2 separate regions of the Homo sapiens genome follow, and region 1 is linked to region 2. The links are contacts of gene promoters, found by promoter capture Hi-C in blood cells and fetal thymus (Javierre and others, 2016). All regions are on one chromosome and are shown on one strand. The core of a region is centred on a gene start or on the middle of the fragment in contact, and the rest is flanking DNA. Distances in the headings are between cores, read along the strand shown. Region 1 overlaps TAOK3 (TAO kinase 3). Region 2 holds the start of IKBIP (IKBKB interacting protein).

The links. The method cuts DNA at HindIII sites, captures the fragments that hold promoters and counts their contacts. A CHiCAGO score of 5 or more calls a contact.
Region 1: a contact is called between a fragment that was not itself captured here and the fragment with the promoter of IKBIP in region 2, in 1 of 17 cell types (M0 macrophages). The highest score is 6.5, in M0 macrophages.

Annotation. Positions count from the first base shown.
Region 1 is chr12:118,347,451-118,352,082 of GRCh38, forward strand. The region is part of intron 1 of TAOK3 (TAO kinase 3); the gene reads right to left. Among named protein-coding and RNA genes, the nearest start is that of TAOK3, 23 kb to the right of the region's middle. The HindIII fragment of the contact is 4,674 bases long and covers 1-4,132 here.
Region 2 is chr12:98,641,368-98,646,211 of GRCh38, forward strand. IKBIP (IKBKB interacting protein) reads right to left here and starts at 3,421. Exons shown (of 3, transcript NM_153687.4): 1 at 3,156-3,421. The coding sequence starts at 3,334. It overlaps APAF1 (apoptotic peptidase activating factor 1), which reads left to right and starts at 3,923. Exons shown (of 27, transcript NM_181861.2): 1 at 3,923-4,468. RefSeq lists enhancers at 2,139-2,766, 2,767-3,393, 3,394-4,021 and silencers at 3,598-3,797, 4,118-4,327. The HindIII fragment of the contact is 4,349 bases long and covers 757-4,844 here.

The sequences.
Region 1 (4,632 bases), core at 546-3,045, about 20 Mb after region 2:
GAGGGGAGGAGGGGGAGCTTTTCCTGACAGGAAGATGCTCTGGCAACTCACTAGCTCCAGCCTCCTCATTTCCAAGTCCAACAGGAGTCCTCTCAGGTCATATCCTTCCATAACCTCTATGCCGCATCTCCTTACAAGGTTGTTTCTTGGTTTGTGTGGCACTGTCCTCTAGGAGTTTCTTTCCAACCCACCTCTTCTGGCTTATCCTACTTCTCTCAACCTCTTAACACAAAATTCTGTGCTGAGCTTCCCCTCTCTACCCTGCACTTTCTCTCATTTATCTGATTCACTCCTGTTCTTTTAGCTCTCTATGCCAAGCCGTTAATGCCCTCAATAAATCTCTCACAAGCTGCTTTTCTCCTTTTCCATTGAGGCTGTCCTAGTTCCAGAACCTCACTACTAGTCCAAGTTCTCATTCTCAATTTCTTTCTTCCTTTAAGTCATTCTACAAACTATTGATAGAGTAATCTTTCAAAGGCTCTGATTGCATCAGTCTTTTCTATTCAAATATCTTAAATGGTTCCTCACTATCTACTGTTCAAAGTTCAAACCTCCTGTTATGTGGCTCTAAGGCTTTTGATTTGCCACTATCCCTGAATATCCTACATTTTGTTCACTATGTCTGTAGGCCAAAAAATACATTGATTATGTCCACCACGCCTGCTGAAAAGGTATCCACAATTCAAGACTCAGTTCAAACTCCATCTCCATGTTACCCCATCTCCCTAGTACGGAAGTAATCTCTTCCTTCTTCATGTATAGAAAGTACCTGACAGCTTCTTGCTGACCTTGATGTCATTCTATTTTGCCTTTAAAGGACATGGACCTTTCTTAATTCCATTAATTGAATATGACTTGCATCAGGATTCTTATTCGCTTTCCATAGTGCCTTCAATGGAGGAGGCAGTGTTAAACACAGACTATTCATCTGGAATTAAAGACTACTTGTCCAGCCTCTGAGCTAAAGTCTAAGTCTGCTTCTGCCTTATTTCTTTCTTTCTTTCTTTTTTTTTTTTTTGAGACGGAGTCTCGCTCTGTCACCCAGGCTGGAGTGCAGTGGCACAATCTTGGCTCACTGCAAGCTCTGCCTCCCGGGCTCACGCCATTCTCCTGCCTCAACTACCCGAGTAGCTCGGACTACAGGTGCCCGCCACCACGCCTGGCTAATTTTTTGTATTTTTAGTAGAGACAGGGTTTCACCATGTTAGCCAGAATGGTCTCGATCTCCTGACCTCTTGATCCACCCGTCTCAGCCTCCCAAAGTGATGGGATTACAGGCGTGAGCCACTGCGCCCAGCCTCTGCCTTATTTCTGAAGAAAAGATATGGGATAAGAATTAGCTAAATACACAATATTATGTGTGTTTTTGTGAGGGGGGAGAAAAAAAATAATTTCTTTTTTTTTTTTTTTTTTTTGAGAACGGGTCTCACTCTTGTTGCCCGGGTCTCACTCTTGTTGCCCGGGTCTCACTCTTGTTGCCCAGGCTGGAGTGCAGTGGCGCGTTCTTGGCCCACTGCAACCTCTGCCTCCCAGGCGGTTCAAGCAATTCTCTTGCCTCAGGCTCTTGAGTAGCTGGGATTACAGGTGCTCACCACCACACCCAGCTAATTTTTGTATTTTTAGTAGAGTTGGGGTTTCACCATGTTGCCCAGGCTGGTCTCAAACTCCTGACCTCAGGTGACCGCCCACCTTGGCCTCCCAAAGTGCTGGGATTACAGGCATGAGCCACCGCGCTGGCTGATTCAAATCATTTCAAAGCATTTTCATTTTAATTATTTTACAAAAAGTAATTATGAGCAATTCCACTCTAGGTATATACCCAAGAGAATGGAAAAATATGTTCATTTAAAAACTTGTATATTTACTGTCACAGAAACATTATTAATATCCAAAAAGTAGAAGCAGCCAAAATATCCATCAACTCTTGAATAATCAGAATGTGGCACACAGATATAATGAAATATTATTTGGCCATAAAAAGGAATCATCACTGATGTACGCTACAATGTGGATGAATCTTGAAACATTATGCTAAGTGAAGATGTCAGACACAAAAAGACACATATTGTCTTGTTCCAGTTATACAAAATGTCCAGAGTAGGCAAATCCATAGAGACAGAAAGTAAATTAGTGCTTACCAGGGGTTGGGGATAATTGAGAGTGGCTGCTAACAGGTACAAAATTCTTTTTGGTGTAATGAAAATGTTCTAGAGTTAGATAGTGGTGAGGTTAGATATTGTAACAACATCACAAATATACTAAAAACCTGAATTTCATAATTTAAAAAGGTAAGTTTTATATCATAAAATTTTATCTAAATTAAAAAAAACACAAAAAACAGTTATTAGTTTCATGCCCCAAATGACAGCTTCAATTTGTGGTATAAAGGAAAAGAGCTCTGACCTTTCAATCAGCAAATCTAGGTTTCAGCCAAGTCACTTAACTCTCTTACTTAACTGTGGCGTCTTTAGGATGCAGCTGAACTTCTCTAAGCCTTCATAACCTCATCTACAAAGTGAGGATATAATGCCTTACAAAGTCACTGTGAGACTCACAATATAACATAAAATTATTATTTCAAATGAATAAAATCTGATAGTTATTTTGCATGCCTAAAATGATTTTTTAAAAATCCTAAACTGTATTGAATAGCCCATAACTTCACTGAATAGTCCACAACTTTTTATTGTTGCCATGTTATCTAACCAGCTTTTGTATTGTCATATATGAATGACATCTTGGGGCCACGTAGCACTTATCCTGTAGGCACTAATAGAACAGTACAGAGTTATTTAATTCCAATCTTCACAATGAGGGGTACATGGCCCAACAGTTATAAACACAGGCATAGAACTGAGTTTAAGTCCAGGTTCTGCCACAGATCTTGAACAAACCACCTAACCTCTCTGAACATCAGTATACACCCCTGTAAAGTCTATGTAAGAATATGTATGTGAATCTACACAAATATCCATTATAGAGGTTCGTTGAGATACTCATTATATAAAGCATGTATTGTAATACCTAGCACCTAACAAGCACTCATTCAGCAATTGTTATTGTTGTTGTCCATCCTATGGAGTAACAAGTTTAAATGACGGGTCTTCAGCTACAAGACAAATTTGAGGCCAGGCATGGTGACTCACGCCTGTAATCCCAGCACTTTGGGAGGCTGAGGCAGGTGGATCACCTTAGGTCAGGAGTTCGAGACCAGCTTGGCCAACATGGTGAAACTCTGTCTCTACTAAAAATACAAAAAATTAGCTGGGTATGGTGGTGGGCACCTGTAATCCCAGCTACTCGGGAGGCTGAGGCAGGAGAATCGCTTGAACCTGGGAGGTGGAGGTTGCAGTGAGCTGAGGTCGTGCCATTGTACTCCAGCCTGGGCAACAAGACCAAAACTCCGTCTCAAAAAAAAAAAAAAGAAAAGAAAAAGAAAAAAAAAAGGCCAGGTGTGGTGGTTCATGCCTGTAATCCCAGCACTTTGGGAGGCTGAGGCAGGCGGATCACTTGAGGTCAGGACTTTGAGACCACCCTGGCCAACGTGGTGAAACCCCATCTCTACAAAAAATACAAAAATTGGCCAGGCGTGGTGGTGCATGCCTGTAATCCCAGCTACTTGGGAGGCTGAGGCACGAGAATCACTTGAACCCGGGAAGTGGAGGCTGCAGTGAACTGAGATCACAGCACTGCACTCCAGCCTAGGTGACAGAATAAAACTCTGTCTCAAGAAAATAAATTAAAAAAAAATCTGAGGCATAACTAGGAATAGAGAAGTAGTTTGTATACTTATTTAGGTAACTAGAACAGGGGATGATTCAGTGCCCTTCCTATGTGTTTTTCTAGCATCACATGGGTCTCTGTAGCATTGCTGTACCTAAATAGTTTGTTTCCTTATTAGTTAAGGAAGAAACATAGTCCTATTCAGCACTAGTCCAAGGCCTGACCCGAGTAGATGCTCAGTAAATGTTTACTGAGTACATAAATGGACAAAGAGTATGGTGTTACTGGCTGCATCTATAGCCAAGCATCAAAACAAACTCAAAGCATTAACTAGACATTTTCAAATATCCATACTCTTACATATATAAAACATTTTGCATTTTAAAAGTTTTCATTTAGGTGTCCTATAAGCTTCTTGGCATCAATACAAAGGAAAGTATATATTATTTAAAAAGATAAGAGACCGATTATAACACCCAATTGAAGTAATAAATATTCCTATCTTTAAGCGTCTGAATATATACTTTGTCTTGCCTAATGGAATTCCCTAATAGTTTTTGCAGGGCACACCTTCACAGAGCCTAACCTTGTAACACAGCAGGCACTTAATTGTACTTAGGTTACTTAAATAATTGGATAAAAATGCTTCTTGGTTGTGTAAAATTAAATGATTATATTTAATCTATAGTTCTTTTTTTTTTTTTTTTTTTTTTTTTTAGTGGCGGAGTCTCCCTCTTTCACCCAGGCCAGACTGCAGTGGCGCTATCTTGGCTCACTCCAAGCTCCGCCTCCCGGGTTCATGCCATTCTCCTGCCTCAGCCTCCCGAGTAGCTGGGATTACAGGCACCCGCCACCGCGCCTGGCTAATTTTTTTATTTTTAGTAGAGATGGGGTTTCACCGTGTTAGCC
Region 2 (4,844 bases), core at 2,171-4,670:
ATGCTGAATTACGTGTTTTAGTGGTAAAGATCTCAATGGCTTTGTCAAAATTCTAGTGAGCTTTTAAGTATTTTAAGATGCCAAATACTTGCTTTTTATCTGGAAAATGTTTACAAATGTCTTATGGGGATATATTTTTATTTCAAAATTTACTATGAATAAATATTTTGCAATAAACAGCAACCAAAGTACATTTGCTTCAATTTTTGCAGCAAAAGATTTCACAAGAGCAACTAAGAGGCAACTATTTAAATAATAATTATAGAATCTGCCCATAAAAAACACATATAATACATACATTTTAGAGAGACAGGGTCTTGCTCTGTCTCTCAGGCTGGAGCACAGTGGTATAATCATGGGTTACTGCAGCTTTGACTTCCCAGACTCAAGCTATCTTCTCACCTCAGCCTCCCAAGTACCTGGGACTACAGCGAATGCCACCACACTTGGCTAATATTTAAAAATTTTTCGTAGACACGGTCTCACTATGTTTCCCAGGCTGGTTTCAAACTCCTGACCTCAAGCAATTCTCTCGCCTCAGTTTCCCAAAGTGTTGGGATTATAGGCATGAACCACTGGGTCTGGCCCCCAAAATTATTTTTGATATAGCATTGTGTTATCATTTTGCAAACATAGTTCAAATTAAATCTTCCTAATGAATGTAATACATTCATTACAATGTAATACAGGAATCACTAACAGCAAATTCCTGATGTGAGGGAAATTTTATTCCCATAAAGTTTAGTTTTCTATTAAAGCTTATCCCAGGATAGTAACTAACTTTCCCAAAACACAAAAGGTTACTTATTTATTTAGGCGAAGTCTCGCTCTGTTATCCAGGCTGGAGTGCAGTAGCAGATCTTGGCTCACTGCAACCTCCACCTCCCAGGTTCAAGTGATTCTCCTGCCTCAACCTCTGAGTAGCTGGGATTACACCAGGCCCAGCTAATTTTTGTGTTTTTGGTAGAGATAGGGTTTCACCATGTTGGACAGGCTGGTCTCAAATTCCTGACCTCAAGTGATTCGCCTGCCTCGGCCTCCCAAAGTGCTAGGATTACAGGCGCAAGCCACTGCACCTGGCCCAAAAAGGTTTTTTTTTCAATTTACTTAAAGGAGGTCAAGCATTTTAAGGCATAAGAGCCGTTTATTTAAAACAGTAAATTCAGTACATTTATTCCTTTCAGATCAAAATTAACATATTCCGTATTAGTAAAATAAATAATGCTATCTGCTTTTTTTTTTTTTTTTTTTGAGAAGGAGTTTTGCTCCATCCTGCAGGCTGGAGTGCAGTGGCACGATTTCGGCTCACTGCAACCTCCGCCTCTTGGGTTCAAGTGATTTTCCTGCCTCAGCCTCCTGAGTAGCTGGGATTACAGGAGCATGCCACCATGCCTGGCTTTTTTGTATTTTTAGTAGACACAGGGTTTTGCTATGTTGGCCAGGCTGGTCTCAAACTCCTGACCTCAGGTGATCCACCCACCTTGGCCTCCCAAAGTGCTGGGAGTACAGGCATGAGCCACTGCCGGCAGGCTGACAATTCTATTGTTTTTGAAGAGGGCGTTTAATCACTTTATTGTGACAAAATTTTGTTTGTTTGTTTTTTGAGATGGAGTCTCGCTCTGTTGCCCAGGCTGGAGTGCAATGGCACGATCCCAGCTCACTGCAACCTCCACCTCCCCATTTCGAGTGATTCTCCTGCCTCAGCCTCCTGAATAGCTGGGATTGCAGGTTTGTGCCACCAAGCCTGGCTAATTTTTGTATTTTTTGTAGAGACAGGGTTTCACCATGTTGGCCAGCCTGGTCTTGAACTCCTGACCTCATGATCTGCCCACCTCGGCCTCCCAAAGTGCTGGGATTACAGGTGTGAGCCACCGCGCCCAGCCGTAACAAATCTTTTAACTCTGAAAAATACACTATTTGGGATGAGTCACCAGTAAAGTATAATTCCATATGTAGTAGCATAAAAAATGTCTAGATGTCCAGGGTCTCTTCTAAAATTCTATCACTCTGGAAGATTAACAACAGTCTTACTAAATAACTTTACACATGAATGAAAAATGGAGAAAAATTCTATTAAGATGCCAATCTTATTAAAATGAAATGGGCTATTCCCTCCTCCCGCCAGAAAAAAAAAGGCTGGGAAAATAAAATTCACAAGTTGGTTTTTTTCTTTTTTCTTTTTTTACGAGTTGGTTTTAAGGTTATTTCTAATATTCATTTTTCCTAATGACACCAATATATCGCCATTTACCTGATTTTAAAACTGCAACTGGTTAGTTTTAAGTGAACACAAGTGCTATGTTTTTGTAGCTTTACCATATTCAATCTGTAACTTACTTAATAAAAGACCTTAAATTCATAATGCATGCACGGTGATCAAAATATGAGCACTCCTCCAAGCTCTGCTACTATAACGTTTGCTCCTTTGGGAGCATAATGATATGGTTTTCTTTTTTTTTTTTTTTTGAGACGGAGTCTCGCTCGGTCGCCCAGGCTGGAGTGCAGTGATGCGATCTTGGCTCATAGCAACCTCCGCCTCCCGGGTTCAAGCGATTCTCCTGCCTCAGCCTCCGGAGGAACTGGGACTACAGGCGCCCGCCACCACGCCCGGCTGATTATTCGTATTTTTGGTAGAGATGGGGTTTCACCATGTTGGCCAGGCTAGTCTCGAACTCCTGACCTCAAGTGATCCACCTGCCTCGGTCTCCAAACATAATGATCTGTTTTAAGGTTGCAAGTATTTCCATTAGGTATTTATGGGGTGAGTAGGGTGGGGCAGATGTGTCCCGGAATGGGGCACAGCGGACAGGAAGTAACGGTTTATAACAACGTGAACGCTTCTGACGTGTAGCGGGAGCTTCAGAAAGCGTGGCCGAATCTGCAGCTCTTAACAAATGGCTCGTTCCCAAACCTTAGCCTCAACTCCTTCTGAGCGATAGGGGCATGCTACCAGCACGGGGGGAAATGAGATACAAGAAACGCCCGAAAGGGAAAAACAAGGCTGGGCTGTTTCCTTCCTTTGGGGTCAAGACAGAGGCACAGAAGGCCCAGGTCTGGGAGGTTGGATCACCTCCGGCTGGATGTTGAGCCGGGTGGGAGCCCAAACAGCAGGGGGCCCACAGGAGGCCGGCCCAGGCAGCCTCGCGTCCACTTACCAGGCCAGGCCCAGGCACGTCCCCAGCGACAGCAGGCTCAGGCACGTTCGGGGGTCTGCCCAGCCCCCGCCTCCGCTGCTCCGGGCCACGGGGGTCTTCCCGCCCTCGCTCCGCTTCCCGGGCTCCGCAGCAGGGGCTCCCTTGGGCCCCGACTTCTTCCGGCTCTTCACCTCAGACATGTCTGGAGACCCTAGGACGACAAGCCCAGGGCAGCTTCTTCACCAGGGGGAGCAGGACGTGGCCGCCTTGGCGTTCGTGGGAACCCTGGGCGGTGACCGCGCCCCCTCACAGACTTGGCACCGCCCAGAGCCCAGCCCCTTCCCTCTCCCCGGCATCCTCGTTGCTTCACTGAGTCTTTCAGCTGCCAGCTCCATAGTTCCCCTAGGAGAGGTGGGCGGCGACCTCAACCCACAGCGCCTTCCACTGCGATATTGCTCCAAATCCGAGGAAATTCAAACTCCCGGGCGCGCGCAGGCCGACGGGACCCGAGGAGGAGGGGCAGGACGAAGGGGTCGCGCGCGCCACGTCGGGCGCGCCGCCGCTGCCCGAGTCCGGCATTGGTGGGAACGCGGCGCGTCCCTGAGGCTTAGCCACGCCCCGTCCGCGGGGTAGGCGGGCACTTCTACGCGCGCGGGCATGAGCCGTGGCAGGAGTGCGCGGCGGCAGCGGTGGCCGCCCCTTGGGGCTTGGGGTGTGTTTATTTGCATAAGCGGGCGCGCGCCGTCCGGGCTGGGTGGATCCGGCGGGATTTGACTGCTCCGCTGTCCAGAGGCGGAGAAGAAGAGGTAGCGAGTGGACGTGACTGCTCTATCCCGGGCAAAAGGGATAGAACCAGAGGTGGGGAGTCTGGGCAGTCGGCGACCCGCGAAGACTTGAGGTGCCGCAGCGGCATCCGGAGTAGCGCCGGGCTCCCTCCGGGGTGCAGCCGCCGTCGGGGGAAGGGCGCCACAGGCCGGGAAGACCTCCTCCCTTTGTGTCCAGTAGTGGGGTCCACCGGAGGGCGGCCCGTGGGCCGGGCCTCACCGCGGCGCTCCGGGACTGTGGGGTCAGGCTGCGTTGGGTGGACGCCCACCTCGCCAACCTTCGGAGGTCCCTGGGGGTCTTCGTGCGCCCCGGGGCTGCAGAGATCCAGGGGAGGCGCCTGTGAGGCCCGGACCTGCCCCGGGGCGAAGGGTATGTGGCGAGACAGAGCCCTGCACCCCTAATTCCCGGTGGAAAACTCCTGTTGCCGTTTCCCTCCACCGGCCTGGAGTCTCCCAGTCTTGTCCCGGCAGTGCCGCCCTCCCCACTAAGACCTAGGCGCAAAGGCTTGGGTAAGTTGACCTCCTCGCTTTTCTCCCCGAGCCAGGTTCTTTGGAGGCTTGGTAGCTGATTTCAGGGACTGAGAATTTGAGGACATGGAATATTTGATAACCATCCTGCTCCTGTACCAGGAAGAGAAATTCTGTAATGAGGAAGTAGTAAACTTGGGGTTTTCGTGGATAAACGTGCGCTGTTTTCTGTTTTACGTCCATGAAGAGTTTTGGCTTTCCATTTTGTTGTGGGTTACAAAAGGTTTTGAGACTTAGTTCAGATAAGTTGTGCAGTTTTAAAACGTATTTAAGATTTGCATATTTTAGTTTAACAGGACTAGGTGAAATTGGAAATTAGTTTCAGAAAACCAGAGTGTCTTATTTGCTTAGCTATTGG